Linked DNA regions of Homo sapiens: region 2 is linked to region 1. The links are contacts of gene promoters, found by promoter capture Hi-C in human tissues and cell types (Jung and others, 2019). All regions are on one chromosome and are shown on one strand. The core of a region is centred on a gene start or on the middle of the fragment in contact, and the rest is flanking DNA. Distances in the headings are between cores, read along the strand shown. Region 1 holds the start of ALDOB (aldolase, fructose-bisphosphate B). Region 2 has its middle 6.2 kb from the start of RNF20.

Evidence for each region. Contacts are between HindIII fragments. The study calls those that stand out against the background at their distance.
Region 2: a fragment that was not itself captured here is called in contact with the fragment with the promoter of ALDOB in region 1 in 2 of the 25 tissues and cell types used here (H1 embryonic stem cells and adrenal gland).

What each region holds. Positions count from the first base shown.
Region 1 is chr9:101,433,704-101,438,200 of GRCh38, forward strand. ALDOB (aldolase, fructose-bisphosphate B) reads right to left here and starts at 2,071. Exons shown (of 9, transcript NM_000035.4): 1 at 2,006-2,071. The HindIII fragment of the contact is 17,042 bases long and covers 1-4,497 here.
Region 2 is chr9:101,525,171-101,530,149 of GRCh38, forward strand. It overlaps a transcript of PGAP4 not described here. Among named protein-coding and RNA genes, the nearest start is that of RNF20, 6.2 kb to the right of the region's middle. The HindIII fragment of the contact is 6,605 bases long and covers 3-4,979 here.

The sequences.
Region 1 (4,497 bases), core at 821-3,320:
CTCTGGAGTTACCTCTGAAGAATGGGGTAGGGTGGAGAGATTCTCACATTTCTTTTCTTTTTCTTTCTTTCTTTTTTATTTTCTGAGACAGAGTCTTGCTCTGTTGCCTAGCCTGGAGTGCACTGGCACAATCATGACTCACTGAAGCCTCGTCCTCCTGGGCTCAAGTGATCTTCCCACCTCAGACACCAAGCAGCTGAAACTACAGGCGCCTGCCACCATGCCCAGCTATTTTTTTTTTTATTTTTGGTATAAACAAAGTCTTGCTATGTTGCCCAGGCTTGTCTTGAACTCCTGAGTTCACGCGATCCTCCCACCTTGGCCTCGCAAAGTGCTGGGATTACAGGCATGAGCCACTGCACCCGGCCACATTTCATTTTATACATTCTTTATCACGCACTTTATTACATATGTGTAACAAGTAATATGTATATAAATCTGGAGGAAAGTTGTATTAACAACAGAAGGTAACCACAGAAAAACAGAGCTACAAATGACCTCAGAGATACCTGCGTCAACCCTGTCACTTTAGAGATGAGGAAACTAAAGCCAGAGAGACTATGTCTGATGTGCCTTCTAAGTTGTGATGTTCTAGGATTGCAAGTTACATCCTATTGGCTTATGACTTAGAATTCTATTTCTAATCCTTCAGCAAAATAGCAGGTAGAATCCTATGGTATGGTTCTTTCTGCCTTCCTTGAAGATGTTCTGTGAAAACATAATTATTTGTAACATGGATATTTAATTCCTGGAGAAATAGAAGGCAGCAGAAAGTTCATTTGCTTCTCTATGTACAAGACAAATGGATTTTTAAGGCAAATATGAGGAGGCTTATTTATTGATAGCCCATGATTTCTAGGCACTGCATGCAGCACTTTTGTACATGATGCTTAAAGCTGCCAATAGCTTCATTATCCACCCCAATGTCCCAGTGACAAGTGCAGTGGGATGATCTAGGGCAGTCCTAGGACAGCCTGATTTCCAGTGCCCTTTAACACACGCGGAGCAGCCCAGAACGAGTCCTGAATGGTGCTCTTTCCTCTAAACTTGGAATGAAGCCAAAGGACCTCTTAGATATTCAACATTTCCCCATTCCCTGCCCCAGTATCTCTGGCTCTAACCTGGGCCTGGGTGCTACCCAGATGTGCCTTAGCTAAAGTGATGAATAGCAGGGTAGCAGAGTTCAAGCTCTGGTGCATCCAAATTGTCTAATGGAGCCCTAGGTAACTATTTAAAGAGAAGTTATTTTTTAAAAAGGCAACATATTCTCACAATGCCTATTTTTCAGATAGTAGAGCAAATGTATCAAAATACACAACCTTTTGATTCCTACTATCTTAAGCTGTAGGGTCTTCACAGTGTCTGGGGCCAGCAGGAAATGTTCTAGAAAGTGTCAAACATGAAGGGTTTGGAAATTCATAATCAAATGATGACTATGCTCTGTGAAGTTTCCAACCCTGTTGCATTTCCTCATTTGAGCAGTGGGTGAAGGCGAAGGGCAAAATACTCCAAGGGTTTGTTTCTGTGACAAAGAAACTTCAGTGTCGGTACCAGTAGGTGTGGGAAGAGAATGTAGAAAATGACATAAGGCAGTAGATATGTAAATAAATCACTAAAATAAGTAGTTGTTATGAAAAGAGAGTTGAGAGTTGAAATGAACAGGAATCTCAAAAACTGATTAGAACCTAACGATAGGAGTGTTCAAGTTGTTTTTCCTAGATCAGAGACTCACAAGGGCCTCATTCAGGTAACACAAGTAACTGGCAATCAATCTTGGGCATTTTGCCACCTCTCAAAAAGTCAGGAAAGGTGTGAATGAGCATTTATACTTAGAGAGAGGAAAACAAGCATTTCCCTCCAAGCAGAGCCATCATGTTTTCAGCCACCATCAAGTTTTTCCCGAAAACAAAGGCAAACCAATCTTCCCTTCTATAAGCTTAGTAGTATTATTAACCCCTTATTCACTGGTGCTGTCCAGGTATACAAAGGAAGCTTTTTTACTTACAGTTTGGGAGAGAAGAGTCCTCCTAGATATCAAAAGCTGTGGGTGAGGCAGCAGCTGCCAAATAAGACAGATCTTTGGTAGCACACAATTTTTATAGACTTCTCATCATGTTTTTTTTTTCCAATATTTGCCCTCCCCTTTCTACCTTGACCTAGTAGGGAGGTGTTTATTCAACACCTCTGATTGGCTCATAAACAACCAGTCCTTAAAATCATGCCCATATACTCCTTATGCTCATAGAATGTTAAAGCTGCAAGGAATGTCTTTAGACCGTGGAGTTCCTAATCCAGACCCTCCATTTCACAGATGAGGAAACTAAGGCAAGGAAGATAAGGAGGTTCCCTTAAGTCATACAGCTAGTCAATGATGGAGCTCTAGGGTCCATTAAATGATACTAGGAAGAATGTTAGTGTAGCTGTAACACTTACAAAACACATGAACTTGGTGACGGGTTTTTGGTTTTGTTTTTTACTTGTCTGAGCCGTTATTTTCTTCTCTGTAAAGTGGGATCTCAATTTCACAGGAGCATTAAGTGAGTTGTATAGTGTCTGTACGCAGTAGGCATTCAAGAATTATTATTTCCAAATTAGGTAATCAATGCTATATTTTCATTATTTATCTTCAGTATATCATTAGTAGTCAATTCCAACAATTTATTCTATAATTTATAGTTAAATTTAAATAATCTTTCAATAAAAGAAATTGATTCTGAATCCTTGAATTTCCCATGTGTGAATTTTGTCCAAATTGGAAATAAAATTCAAAACATTCTGTTTTTAAAAATCATTGTCTCTCCCATCTTCTCCAGTCCTCCAAAACCTAGCTGGGCTTTCTGATGTATTTAATGCCAGAAATCATTGTTTTGTATTCCCATTCTCTTTTAACCTTTGTACTTTTGTCTTCAAATTTGGTTAAAAACTAGAATTAAAGTGATTGAACTAAGCCATCAACACCCCTAAATATGGTACTGTCTGGGTATGGGTTCATTCTGCAGGGCTTTTTCCTAAGTATGAAACCCAAATTTAATTCCAGAAAAGGTAAATAAAAATATTATATGCTTCCAGAGGCAAATGATGAATGAGGCAAATAAATGAGGGAAATCTAAAAGTGATGGAATGACCGTAATTACAAAAAAGGGTAAATTCTCATGAACATGTTCCTCTGGAATAATTCATAAAATGGAAAACAAAACTAAGATGCTTGATTGTGCAGAGTGTAACACCAGAATTTATGGATGAAAAGGTGAAATGTCAACAAAATGAAGGAAAAAATAAACGGAACTAGGTGATCTAAAAAGAGTTTTGGTTTAGTTTTGGTTGTTTTTCCTAGATCAGAGACTCACAAGGGCCTCATTCAGGTAACACAAGTAACTGGCAATCAATCTTGGGCATTTTGCCACCTCTCAAAAAGCCAGGAAAGGTGTGAATGAGCATTTATACTTAGAGAGAGGAAAACAAGCATTTCCCTCCAAGCAGAGCCATCATGTTTTCAGCCACCATCAAGTTTTTCCTGAAAACAAAGGCTTCTGAGAACAGTAAGTATTCATCACTGAATGTGAATATTGAAGGAAATTGAAGTATTTGAAACACAATATTGAGGCTCATTTGGCTAGGGAAGTTCCCACCAAGCCCTGTCCTGAGGATAGTAGAGGGATAGACCAGGGAAAGGTCCTATCAGCTCCCTTGACTCCACTTAGTATCTGATGGCACATTTCCTGGTTTCCCCATCTTCAACTGGGCTCATTGAAGCACCTGCTACCATATTTGTCAGACCAATGTGACCAGCTTTGGGGCTATGTGAGGTTTCATCCTCTATGATTTTTGGTAAAGGAGAATGGAGGAACAAGAGGTGGATGGTGATGAAAGAATAGAGAGTGGGTGTAATGAAAGTTGTTAGGAGTCAGGGCTGGGGTAGTCAGAACCATAGCTAAAACATTCTACCTGCTGAGAGATGCTACTAGTACTAATTATTCTTGTTATACAACAATAATAGCTATCCTTTTTTTGAGAGTCTATGATGTACCTGGTTCTTTTCATAAATTATCTCCAATATCAGCGACTCTCTGAAGAAACGCTTATTACCCCCATTTTATGCATAACAAAACTCTGGTTCAGAGAGGGCAAGTAACTTGTCTAGAGTCACAGTACAGGTAGCTGGAGAGTTTGTCTCATTCCAAGACAGTGATCTAAAGCAGAGCTGCTTACATTTTGGTAACTGCAGACTCATAAATTAGCTCTTTCCCTATTGCCTTCTCAGCAGTTTATAACCTTGGACATTAAACTTTCATTAATCAGGGAGGAATGACTTGCGTCAGCAGACGTAGGTGTCCTTGGTGAGCTGGGCATGGCTCCATGTGAACAACAGCCTGGCTAGGAATGTCAGAACAGCATGAGTACTCCTGCCCTGAGTGCTGCCACTTGCTGCTGTTCTTGTAGCATCAGCATTTGCCCACCTCTGGGGCTTGATGTGCAACTGAAACTCAAAGTTCAGGA
Region 2 (4,979 bases), core at 2,055-4,554, 93 kb after region 1:
TCTTTGAGAAATCTCCAAACTGCTTTCTAAAGTAAGCCCTCTCTTTAAATAGCTAGGTTTGTGCTTGCTATTTAGTTTACATATTAAACCCCCTTCATATTTATTTACACGTAAATAGCTGAAATATTTCATTTAGAGAATAGAGTGAATAGGAGATGAGGAAGCAGAGACTACAAGTGGAGACAATTTGTGTACGTCTAAAATTGGTAATACGTTGGTTTTAAATGTTTTTTTTTTCCTATGAAAATAAATGTTGGCGGGCGCAGTGGCTCATGCCTGTAATCTCAGCACTTGGGGAGGCCGAGGTGGGCAGATTGCCTGATGTCGGGAGTTCGAGACCAGCCTGGCCAACATGGCGAAACCCTGTCTCTACTAAAAATACAAAAATTAGCCAGGTGTGGTGACAGGTGCCTGTAATCTCAGCTACTCAGGAAGCTAAGGAAGAGAGAATCACTTGAACCCGAGAGGCGGAGCTTGCAGTGAGACAAGATTGCGCCATTGCACTCCAGCCTCGGCAACAGAGCGTCTCAAAAAAAAAAAAAAAAAAAAAAGAGAGAGAGAGAGAGAAAATAAATGTTATGCATATATTCCTGAAACCGACTTATCCCATTCAACAACATATTCTTATATTTCAGTGTTAAGAAATACAAATCTATATCACAACTTTAATGACTACATAGAATTCTATATTCGAGGACATTTCATGATTTATACAAATTGATTCTAAAAATTTTAAGTAATAAATAATGCTATGTTAAACATTTTTGTACAGTCATATTTAAACAAGTATGTGATTCTATTTTTTTCAAGCATATAATCAAACCTGGAATAGCTGAATCATTGGGTATGACATAGTTTAGGCTTTTGGTACAAATTGACATTTATTTATAAAAGGACAGTTTTCATAAGAAGAAAAAAATACAAAACAAGATGTTCAGTACTTCACATATTTTAGCATTTAACAGCTTGAAGCAACACATCTCCTTGCTGTTCTTCTAAATGTTAAGATCACATTTCAAACACACTGATCTAATTAGCCTTGGCCATCACTCTGTTGTAAGTGGCTACCCACATAATTATTAGATTATTAATAAAAGCAAGCACAAATAAGAAAAAGAGAAAGGGAATAGTCTTCAAGGTTAACTGAATATTTGAAATGTCAATGTAATGTCAAAATTTGCTGCATGGTTTGGACATAGTCCATTAAAAGTATCTTTCTCCCTGTACTATTGAAATCTCTATTACCCTGGCATCCAGTACTTTTATTTTTTTAAATTTATTTTTATTATTTATTTTTGGGATGGCGTCTGACTCTCTCGCCCAGGCTGGAGAGCAGTGGCATGATCTTGGATCACTGCAACCTCTGCCTCCTGGGTTCAAGTGATTCTCCTGCCTCAGCCTCCCAAGTAGCTGAGACTACAGGTATGCGCCACCATGCCTGGCTAATTTTGTGTATTTAGTAGAGATGGGGTTTCACCATGTTGGCCAGGCTGCTCTTGAACTCCTGACGTCAGGTGATCCACCCACCTTGACCTTCCCAACTCCTGGAATTACAGGCATGAGCCACTGCGCCTGGCCCCAGTTACTTTCAAAACCTTATTCAAGTACATGATGCAAATGAATCCAGCTTCTAGGGTGGTTCATAAATTGTAATTTCAAGGTTTAGTTCAATAAGTGAAGCATAATGACTTATTCCATTTTTCCAAAGTAAATGGTACCAACCAGAACTATGCTTGGGAGGAAGAACAGGGAAGGGATATCAGGAAATCCTGAACTTCCTTCCACCTCTTCCAAATTAACTCATGTGTCTCCTGTTTTATAAATGCCTTTGGGAGGAGATACTACCATCATCCTGCAATAAAGATGAAGCTTGAATTCACTATATATCAGCATGTGCATATTTAAGATCAGTGTTTCCTGAAGTTGTGACAGTGAGAAGAGAGAGTCGGCTGAGTGCTACAAGTATCACAGGGTTGACGAGGATGGCAGCCCCACCTGGAAGGGCTTTATAAGCGCTGAGATTCTGGAGGCAGTCTCTTGAGAATTCATAACTCTCTAGGTAACTGCATTAGTCATCAATGTAATCAGCCTTTTTCTTTCTTCTGAGTCAGGAAAGGGGTGCTGATGAGGCAAGATTCCGAACATTTGTGGATTCCTGGCCGTATACTACTGCTGTAAGACCTCCTTTTAACTGAATTTGGCCATATGCCTTTGGGCACCAGAAATTCATATCTTAATACATGTCGTTGTTGGAGTCAATACATGTTTAAACTGATATACTATATCAGTTATATTTATATCAATTCTCCCTTATTGATCCTAGAATAATTTAAAAGAAAATGAAAAGACTAGACATAATTATGGCCACACAAGACAGTAGCTACACAATTAAGTAATAAATGTTTTACAAACTTAAGTAATATATGGACCCCTCTTTCAAAGGAAAACAATTTTCTCATGGGCCACTTAATGTTTACTTAAAATATTTTAATTGTAATGTTAAAATGTATAAATATAAACTTGGTATGCATGCCTTATGCTTATACAGCTTACAAACAAAAATATACTTACAAATTAAATATAAACAAGGCTACAGAGCCAAATAAGCTTAAAGTTAACAACATTTATTTAATGTGAGACACTTGATGTTGTTTTGCTAATATTAAGGCCCTCCTTGCTGTGTGTATACAGCATGACATGGATTCTTTAGAATTTAGTGATCCATCTCATCATCTTGACTGCCCATTGGGAAAGACGCTCAATCTCTACCCATGTGGATTTTCTTGGAATTCCTGTAAGCTCCAAGGGTAAGTTAGGGTGTGCCTGGGTGTGCCTAATTAGGTACTGTTGCCCCAAAATCTGTACTCAGATTTGTACTAAATAAGCACAATTACCCAGGGTCAGGAAAAGATTTATTGCATTTTTTAAGTTTTAAAAGTAAAAATGAGATCATAGGCACTGCCCATGGCCTCTTTGTGCCCTTCTTTTATTTTTCCACATTTCTGGAAATTCTTTTTAAGTGCCTTCTAGAATTCTGTACCAGTCAGCAAAAATATTTATACCAAAGTTTGAGACAGGCAATTTTCTTTCAGTTGGAAGTAGTTGTTTCCACCTTGCTTGTATGGGGAGGGGTCTCTAATATGCACCCAATCATAATAGTCCCTGGGCTTTGTCTCCTGTTCTGCTTGCCTACCAAGGCCATGAAAACCTAAATTCTCCTTTACCTAGTTTGACAAATGCCCTCAGCTGAAATCCAGTTTTAGTCCTCAGCTTGCTTTCTGAATGATGGTCATGCCATGCTTCTGGAAATGGAAATTCCAAATCTTACCTTTGTAATTACATGCTGTACCCCCATCCCCAACGCCTGATGCAAGCATTTCAGTGATGCTGTTCTTTCTCCTCCAAGGCCAGGTGGGTTTCTAGTTGCACAGTAACAGTAATATGGAAGAGTAGACCTACCCAGTGAAAATTCACAAAGACAACCTGGCTTCTGCTTTCCAAACACAAAAGCATCATAGAAATACAAATGATAAAAATGTTAGAAACCCAAACATAGACTGTCACATGGCTGGGCATAGGGACATAAAAGACCAATTGTATGATTGTAACATAGACACTTCTTAGTTTTTTTTTTTTTTTTTAAGTTCAGAGGCACATGTGCAGTTTGTTACATAGGTAATTTTGTCATGGGGGTTTGTTGTACAGATTATTTGATCATCCAGATATTAAGCCTAGTTCTCGTTAGTTGTTTTTCCTGATCCTCTCCCTCCTCCCACCCTTCACTAGGCCCTGGTTTGTGTTGCTCCTCTCTCTCTCTCTCTGTGTCCATGTGTTCTCATCACTTAGCTCCTACTTATAAGTGAGTACGTGCGGTTGTCTGTTCCTGTGTTAGTTTGCTAAGGATAATGGCCTTCAGCTGCATCCATGTCCCTGCAAATGACATGATGTCATTCTTTTTTTATAGCTGCATGGTGTCTCTCGGCTTTTTTTTTTTTTTTTCTTGAAATGGAGTTTCACTCTTTTTGCCCAGGCTGGAGTGCAATGGTGTGATCTCGGCTCACTGCAACCTTTGCCTCCTGGGTTCAAGTGATTCTCCTGCCTCAGCCTCCCGAGTAGCTGGAATTACAGGCGACCACCACCATGCCCAGCTAATTTTGTATTTTTAGTAGGGACAGGGTTTCACCATGTTGGCCAGGCTGGTCTTGAACTCCTGACATCAGGTGATCCGCCCGCCTTGGCCTCCCAAAGTGCTGGGATTACAGGCATAAGCCACCGCGCCCGGCCTTCTCTCAGCTTTTTAAGAGAGCATTAAACTAAATGGGGCTCCTCTGACAATTTGTGACTACCAATTAGCTCTCACGTTTCCATAGACTGTTAGGACACCTTGTCCTCACTCTTTAAAAAAGGCAGACCTGGCTCTAGCTCCCCTGAGTAAGCCACCTCCCTGGTCCCCAGAAATTACAAAGTAAGAGGGCTGAGTATGATGTAGTATAGTGGGCCAGGTGATCTGGGGAGAAGGAGGCAGGGGTATGGAAATGAAGGAGAAAGGTGTGGCGAGGGTGAATGGTAGGAGAAGGGAAAGGTGAGGACAAGAGGAGGGGGCTCGTTTTTGTAGGACACTCCCAGGTGGACCTGGACATCATTACCTAGAGCAGTGTTCCTTAAATGTGCCCAGATAGGAAGCATAATTACAAAAGTAAGAACTTGCATTTTCAGAGAGCTTTCCCCCGGAAATTCTGATTCAGCAAGTCTAGAGCAAGGGCTATGGTATCTAAATGTTTCTGTTTAACGAGTGATACCATGCTAAGTAAAATACAACTTGTTTAAAATAAGGGAGTTCCTGAATTATGTCTGGCATACAATCCAATCCAGATTTCATGGAATATTGGAATGCCTGGAGATATAACAATCTTAGAACAAAACATTTGTAAAGCAGTGTAGAAAAAAACAATAAACAAAAATCCAAAATATCTTAATTT